Regions from separate parts of the Homo sapiens genome. Here region 2 is linked to region 1. The links are contacts of gene promoters, found by promoter capture Hi-C in human tissues and cell types (Jung and others, 2019). All regions are on one chromosome and are shown on one strand. Each heading gives the region's core, a stretch centred on a gene start or on the middle of the fragment in contact. The rest is flanking DNA. Distances are from core to core; before and after follow the strand shown. Region 1 holds the start of SETD9 (SET domain containing 9). Region 2 overlaps LOC105378977 (a long non-coding RNA gene).

Region 1 (4,336 bases), core at 1-2,500:
AGCCAGAGGCAGAAACGAAGTTCAGCTCTTTCCCGTACTACACCCAACAGCCAAGCTGAATGTCATCACAATGAGAATGAATGACCTCACATTCAATGGCTTTTTAAAAATGGCCTTGTAGTTTCAAAGACAAATTCAACATCGTATACTTTGTGACACTCCCTCCAGGACGACTAACGTCTTCAATGACTGCACCTCTTATTTCCATAATCATTATCTTTTTGTACTAACTGCATTATTTTTACTTGAACAAAAAGGTTGTAATTCCCGCCTCACGGTTCCGAGTCATGATACAACTGATCTCCTGTTTCCCTAGCATGCAACCTTCCGGAAACCGCTTTGTTTCCCTATTTGTCGGACACTGACTTCAGGGAGGCCCGGTCGGCCTCTTTGGTGAGCACGGTGTTGAGCTGATCACTGGTGCGCCCTTAATAACGCCGGCGGGACTCACCCCAATCCGAAACCCACCATCCCGACGTGCTTTTGAGTGGCGTTCTGCCCGTTCTTAACGCGCGAGCTACTGCACGCTATTCTCACAGCCGGGATGGGCTTCTTTAACCACGTGAAGTACTTGTATGAACTATGAAAATAAACCCTGGCTTGGCTTTTCTGAGGAAGTTCAAGCACCTAATTAACCCCTGGTGGAGAAAAAGCCACGCACTCTCACGCGGTAAGGGCAGTCTTTTTAAAAAGTTTCCATTTTTGCCCAGATACAAGCTCCCCAGTCAGTGCCGAACGCAACAGGGAAGAACAGGCGACACATCCGGCTGGCGAGCTCGGCCTCGCGGGCCCGGCAGCGCAGCGGACACTGGGAAAGAGGCCATAGGCCCCGCCCACCTGAAGCCACCGCCCACTTCAGGCTTCCAGCGGGCCTCGGACTCCACCAACCTCGGCCCCGCCCGCCTCTGGCCCGCGTTCCTTAAACCCCTCCGAGGCCTCAGTCCCCGCCCACCCGGCCCGCCCACCTCAGTCCCTGCCCACCCGGGCCCGCCCATCTCAGGCCGGCAGTCAGCCTCAGGCTCTCCGCTTTGCGTCCCGCCGCCGTGGTGGCGTCTGGGAACCGAAGGCAGGTGCCCCTCGTTCTGCCGTCCCGCCCTCTCACCTCGGGTTGTGGCTTAGGTTCAGTGCGATCCAGGGAACGAAGCGGTACTTGTAACGGCGCCATCGCTGCCACAGGCCCCGCAGCAGACGGCCAGGCATGGCTGCCCCGCGGGGCCGTGACCAGGACGGCGCGGGGAAGGCGGATCGAGGCCTCGGGCCCGCCCCGGCCCGGGAGGAGAGGGGGCCGCGCTCGGCCGCCTTCCCCTGGCTCCGCTCTCAGTGTTCCTGGCACCGCCTGACTTCTGTTGCTCTGGGGCTTCGTCCTTCCCCTTTCCTGACCTCACCTCTCTGAATGAGAGGCGCGTAGAGCTGGAAGGAGGTCCCCTTGACCACTTTTTCTTTCTCCGGTCGCTCGGGTGCTTCCGTGGGCGCACACAAGCGCTAGCCCTGGTTGCGGGCGAAGGGTCACCGGGCCTCAGGGGCGAACCCGCCCCCGAGACCGCGTCCCAGGAGCGGACCGCCTAGTTTCTCTGTCACGGCTGTCTGGCCTGCCCCTTTGTCCCGGCCGCGCTCTGTGTTCCATCCTCCGTCCACTTGAGCTCTGCCTCTTCCTCGACGTTCTCTCCCCTTCTCTCCGTGGCCCCAGAGCAGCCCGACTTCGGGAACCCGAGTTTCAGTCCTCCCCAGACAGCAGCCCTTCTTCTGCGTGAACCCGTGTTCCCAAAGTTACCAGTTTGGGCGTTTTGCGAATATTTACACGTAAAAAAACAAAGTGTCATGATTCCCTGTTTTCACTCGTTTTTCTCTTCATTGACCCAACCATTCAAAGGCAAAACTACATGGACAAATGTTTCTGAAAAACAGCTTTGTTGAGGAATGGTTGGGATACAATAAACTGCACATATTTAAAGTGAACAATTTGATAGGTTTTCGACACCACAGCCAAGATAGTAATCCAGCCCCTCCCCCAGTCCCCAAGCAACCACTGAGGTGCTTTTGTCCTTTTAATATGGTCTTCGCTTCAATTTGGAAACGTTTTGTCTAGAAGTTCTGCATCTGTGTTCGTGAGAGATATTGTTTCGTAGTTTTCTTGTAGTGTCTTAATCTGGCTTTGGTATTTAGGCTAATGTTGACTTCATAGGATGAGGTGGGAAGTAGTCCCCCATAGGTGAAATTTAAAAGGAACTTTACGACCGCTCCTCCCCAACACCCAGATGCATGCACACGCACACACATATTTAGAACAGGTTTGGACAAAGTTCAGTTTTAAGGGGGGCAAACTACAGGAATCCCTTAACCATATTCAAATCACCAAGTGTTTATTGACAGATAAATACGTTGGTATCATTTCCTCTATTCTTTGCCTGAGAGTGAGGTTGGATCCTAAACTATTGAAATTGAACGGCTCAGATCTAATAAAAACTCAGCCAAGGCCGGGCGCAGTGGCTCACGCCTGTAATCCCAGCACTTTGGGAGGCCGAGGCGGGTGGATCCCCTGAGGTCAGGAGTTCGGGACCAATCTGGCCAACATGGCGAAACCCCGTCTTTACTAAAAAAGAACAAATACAAAAATTAGCCGAGCGTTGGTGGCACGTGCCTGTAGTCCCAGCTACTCAGGAGGCTGAGGCAGAAGAATCGCTTGAACCTGAGAGACGGAGGTTGCAGGGAGCCGAGATCCGCCACTGCACTCCAGCCTGGGTGACAGAGTGAGATCCCGTCTCAAAAAAAAAAAAAATTCAGCCAATCGCCAGTAGCTGCGGGACTAATTTGTTCTATTCTGAAAGAAATAAAGAGAAAGAGTATCTACCAATGTCTCTATTTCGTTCATATCATATAGAATGTTAGCAAACTCTAGAGGCTTTCTCTCAGACTCTGTGTTTGTTTGATAATTTGGCATAATCTAGATTTACCTGACTTGCTAAATGGAGTCAATTCAGTTCCAGGATGTATTAATAAGTGGCATACAAGAAAGTTTCTTTATAGTCTCCAAACTTAACAAAGAACCCAAAAGAACTAGTTTAATCTTTACCTATGGTAATGTACTTGTCTAAAAAAAGAAAAAAATCAGTTTTTGTATATTTTTACAGTTTTTTTATATTTATGGTATTAAAATTAAATTTTGGTTAGCTAAGTAATTAATGAAAACCTTCTTTTTCTAGTTTCTTAAAGTAGGTTATTAGGTCACTAATTTTAATCTTTTCTTCTTTTCTAATGGAAGCATCTAAAGTTATACAAATAGAAACATGGTAGCTAAAGCTCAAGTCACCCTTAACCAAACACCGTACCTTGTACTTCCACCAATCCTGGTACTTGGCGCTTCTCAGAAGTTATCAGACGGGTGTGTTTTCTGCCAGTTTTATTTTTATGTATTTACATACCCGCGTATGTTTTTATAGAAAATACATAGTATTTTGTGTGAGTATTGTTAAAATATTATAAGGATCCACAACTTATTTGATTTCCTCAAAAATACATCTTGAAGATCTACCCATATTGGTTTAAGTCTACTGCATTCTTCTATTTTTGAGGTTTTGCCTTCAAGTTTAATATTTACTGTAGTTTTCTAGTAGGTATGTATACTTTATGAAGTTTTTTAAAGTTCTATTTTTGACTTTCCAAAAATTTTTATTGTTTTAAATTTTAAATGAATGATAAATATCAAATGCTTTTCTCTGCTTATTGAGATGACCATATAGTTTCTATTCATTTATTCATGTAGTGAATGATGACACATTGTCAAATGTTGACCGTCCTTGGATTTCTGACATAACTACTCAGTTATGAGTACCTCTTTGGTCAGATCCTGTAGGTTTTAATATATGCTATTGTCATCCCACATTTATTTTGAAGTATGTTTTAAAATTTTTTAGATAGAATTTGCCTGTGAAAACATCTGGGCTTGTAATTTTCTTTGATAATAAATTCAACTTATTTTAAAGATATAGGGCTATTCATAATGTCCGTTTCATCTTGTGTTGTTTGGTAAGTTATATTTTTATGGAATTTGTTCATTTTGTCTAAGTTGCCAAATATCTTGGTATAAAGTTGTTTATAAATACTGTCTTACTAACCTTTTAATGTCTGTATGATCTGTTGTAATAGCCCATTTTTGTTCCTGATTTTGGTGATTTGTGTTCTCTTCTTCATCATTGTAATTGAGGGTTTGTCAATCTTTTCAAAGAAACAGCTTTTGGCTTTATTACTTTTCCCTGCTTATTTTTTATTTTGTTGACCTCTGTTCTTATCTTTTTTCTCTCTTTTTTTATTTTTAGTGATGGGGTCTCACTGTGTTGCC
Region 2 (4,248 bases), core at 1,041-3,540, 600 kb after region 1:
AGCTTTATTTCTTGTACAATAAATCCATCTCAGCAAAGAGAGCCTGCCATTACATGGAACTCAGCATCTACTGAGGCAAGTAAGATTCACGCTCCTGAAGACAAAGCAGGAAGTCAGCTCATTAAGGCTGTTATCTTGCTTCTGACTCTATCTTGCTTTGTGCAGTCTTCACTGTCTCAAGTGCTATATTGTCTGTGTGGTATTTCATTTTAAAATTCTTCCGTTTGCTGCTGATTGGTTGGTTTAATAGAAAAATAAATAAATAAAATTTTTCAGTTGAGACATTGTGATGTAGTTGTATATACAAGTTAACTCTAATCTATCCTCCAAGAGGGGAGGCTAGAATTTAAAATACCCTGTTTGGGGGATCCAGCAGTTAACTACTGCTGGAGTTGGTTAACTCAAATGAAGCACCCTAGCCAGAGTCAACATCTTCTAAGATGGTCCACTTAGCATTTAAATATAATTAACTAAACCCATGCCAGGAGGCTTACTAACATAATGGATATTTAAAATAGTTTCTAATTGGTGAGGTGAGTAGTAATCAAACCAGATGGTTGGTTAGGGGTGTTATACCAGAAACTCTGCCCTTACCTGAATGAAGCATAAGCATTGGCAAGCCCAGCTTTCTGAATACAAATGGTGCAAGCTTGCAGTCTAGACCCCCAAGTTGCTTCTACGTCCTCCACTTCACACAGCACCCTGTACCTGACCCTGTACAAAACTGGACACACCTGCCATCAGAATATGCTTGTCCTAAATTCAACTAAGCCTTTTATGGGGAATGCTGAACAGACGACTCAAAGGTAAAAGAGGGCCCAAGGATAAAGACTGGGACTTTCCTAGCTACATGCCATGTTTAAGACTGTTTTTGAGACTTTTTGTGAATAAATGTCTAGGTATTGTCAGAATATTTTCTAAAACCTCTTTTCATTGTAATATGACTCCTGGTAGCCAGGTTGTGAAGGAAGGAATATACTGACTCCCCCAACACTTCCTCACTTCCGATGGTTGGAGCCTATTAATATTTACCAGGAAATTTTTATATTTGCCAAAACGATTGGCTTGGGTAGAATGCCATGCCATGCAAATTTCAAATTCATGTTTTCATATAGAGAATTAAGCTAAAGATGGTTAGCTTAAGGTTGTGGGGTTTTTCTTTGAATTTTGGGACTCCGATTGCATTCTGTAAATGTCCCTTAATGAAGGAACTATTTGGTGGGCCTTATACTTGTCCCTGAACACCCTTTAACTGTGACTTGTAGGATAATTTCTGAACCCATTTAAATTCTGGAAACCTGAGAGTTGCCTGTCTAAGCAGTAGCTGTGCTCCTTCTGTGGCATCTTCTTGTAAAATATTGGATTCTAAACTGGTTGCAGTGGAAACCCAGGGCCACTGAGGGAAGAGTGGAAGCCAGATAGAGTGTCCCCTCCTTCTGTGCTGGCTGGGACAGGCAATCTCAGCCCAGGGGTCGGGGAGAGGAACCGGGATTCATACCCGCAGGATTTTGTTTGAGATTTCATGCCTATCAAGTTCATCCTCAAAGAACCCAATGTCATTCTGATTTATTATTATTATTTGAATGAGAGTCAACCACCGACTAATTGTGTCTGGGATATGTCAGCCCCAAGCCTGCCTTAGGGCAAAAGGTTGGACAAGATAATTAGGACTGTGAGGAGGAATTGAGAGACTTCCTGTGGAAGTATCAGAGTAGAAGAAGCCAACACAAAAATCTGGCATCAGTAATGGTCTTTCTTTTATTCTCCTCTCAGGACGGTTTGGAACTTTGGGATCCTTGAAGGACCCCGTGGCCTAGCAGATGAGCACCCTGCCTGCGGCTGCAGGGCAATGTCACAGAGAACCCCTAGGGGGAAGCACTCAGGCACAAGTCTCAGTGAGATTCTCAGCGGCAGGGCTGTGCATGCATCCGGGGACACCATCTCCTGTTTCTCACATAAAGATTACGGCACAGGCAAAGATAAGGAACATTTTCCTAACAGTAAGAAGGCTTTGAATCCAAGAAAGCAACAAACCAGAGCAGACTCATTTGAAACATGAACAGAGTGATGTGGCCAAAGGAATCCAAGCCAGGTTTCACCAGGTTCCTATTGTGAACACACTGGATGTTTATATGAGAATCCCAGTGTATAGCAATCATAACTAGATAATAATTATGCTTAAGATTTGGTCCTCTTTCCATATATGGATTCAGTCCTTTTCTGTCATTTTGTCATTTTCATGGAATCTGGAGTTACGGAACCATCCAATGTTTATTACAGAGAATGACCACCCATAAGCCTCTCCATGCTTATGGAAGCAACAGTTCTGGGGCCGCTGGCTGCATATTCCTTCCAGGTGTTTATTTCTGGGTCTACATCATGTCCCTCACTCATCAATTTAACTCTATCCAGAGAATTCCTCTATGGTCTTCATCAGATTAGGAAGTAAATCATCAGTCACTTCAAATATTTCAAGCTTGGTTTTCTTTGACATAAATCAGTTCTCCTGACTACAATTCCTGGAAAATATTGTAGAGCCCAGCAGCATTGCAGTATTTCAACCTTCATTTGAGTTGCCTGTGACCCAGATGTGAGCTAGTGCTTCCACAGTCTCAGATGTCTGGGTGAATCCACCAATTCTACACCTGTGAACATCCCTGCCTTTGATTCTTTCTAATTGTCAGGAAACTTGCACTCATAATCCCTCCTGCCTCTGGCTCCTGGGTCCATATGTACTGGCTCTGTATCAGCCTCTCTCAACCCAGGTGTAATACTCAGCCCTTTGTCATTTTATACAAAACAATTCACACTTTAAGCATTTCTTGAGTAATACTTTGTACAAGTAATACCTTGGGATGCAGAGTGAGAGTATGTGGGTGGGTCATGTTACATAGTTCCAGGCTTCCCAAGGTCCTCTACCTCTAGGCTCTCTGTCCTGTCCTCTCTTCCTTCCTTATTTTCCCTGGGAGCTCCATGACCTTCTCCCTCTATCAGACAAATTAGCCCAGTTCCCCTTAGCTCCTACCGCTAAGTGTCCATCAAGGCCCTCAGCGAAACAAAGTGTGTTCTGTTTAACAAAATCTATGTTCCTTAGAACATAGCTAGAATATAAATAACAACAAAAGTTCAGGTGCATATATATATTAGTTGATGAAATCAAGTATAAATCTCTGCCTCCATTGAAAGATAGCACAATGTTTTAGAGAAGGAACTGAATTAGGAATCAGTCTATTCGAATTTGAGGCCCAGCAGCACCCTTCACTAGACAGGTGAAAAAGCCAGCAATTCATTTTCGGTCTCAGTTCATCATCTGAAGAGTGAAAATGTTACAAATATTTTGAATCATTATGCTGATTAAAGGAAATAACTTATTCACATGCACTCTGAAACATTAGAGCAGCGTTTCTCAGGACTTTTTTAGTTTTACCATGACTGAGAGTGCTGCTGGCACTTTGGAGGAGGTGCTGGGGATGCGAGGTGGCTGCCAATGTGGAAAAATTGTATATAACACAGTACTGCCTAATTATCAATAACATACCCATTGAGAAATGCTACATCTGAACACAGTATAAATGAAAGGTACGTTACTTCTGACCTTCCATCTTTTACACAAAATGCTGATGAATTTCTTCATGGTGTAGATAATTCTTTTAAACAATTTTCCTCATTCTGGATTATTTTAGCCCAATCTTTGTTCCAAGGTGATAGTTTCTCTGCCTTCCAATGATGCTGCCAACATTTTAATTGCAATCTTGAGCTTCCTTCTATACAGAGTGCTTCCATTTAGGGTATCTTTGTTTGATCTCTCAGTTGAAACTACATTTTACCCTCCAGAAAACAAAAAGAAGAAAGACAAATTATGGGTAAAGGCTGAGAGAATTTTCCACGTGGTGAAGGCAAGCAGTATGAGGAAGCAGGTGAGCTAAGTACCCACGGGGCAGCTATTCGGGCCAGTAGTTGTTTTCCCAAGGCCAGCGTCACCTGGTGTAAACAGCTGGTGGGCTTTTAATCAGGCTTCAAATCTCTTTCCCACCTCTCCTCTTCTGATTGCAATAAGCAATGTAGCCCTAACTAGGGCCCAGACTTCCAGACTGCAGACTTCCAGGAGCAACACAGTTCTATCCCCATTCTGTGACTTGCCATCTGCCCATGAAGCCTTGAGAGGGTCCATCATCTGCAGGCCTGACTCCTGATTTGCTCTCTTGGCTGTGGTGAAGCACTGTGGTCACCCACATACACTCTCCCTTT

What was found. The method cuts DNA at HindIII sites, captures the fragments that hold promoters and counts their contacts. A contact is called where the count stands out against the background at its distance.
Region 2: a fragment that was not itself captured here is called in contact with the fragment with the promoter of SETD9 in region 1 in 1 of the 25 tissues and cell types used here (lymphoblastoid cells).

Annotation. Positions count from the first base shown.
Region 1 is chr5:56,906,510-56,910,845 of GRCh38, reverse strand. It overlaps SETD9 (SET domain containing 9), which reads right to left and starts at 1,250. Exons shown (of 6, transcript NM_153706.4): 1 at 1,103-1,250. The coding sequence starts at 1,200. RefSeq lists enhancers at 1-589, 685-734, 1,525-1,614 and silencers at 775-984, 1,165-1,374. The HindIII fragment of the contact is 10,546 bases long and covers 1-4,336 here.
Region 2 is chr5:56,312,374-56,316,621 of GRCh38, reverse strand. All of the region lies in intron 2 of LOC105378977 (a long non-coding RNA gene), which reads right to left. Among named protein-coding and RNA genes, the nearest start is that of ANKRD55, 81 kb to the right of the region's middle. RefSeq lists a silencer at 1,810-1,949. The HindIII fragment of the contact is 3,928 bases long and covers 327-4,248 here.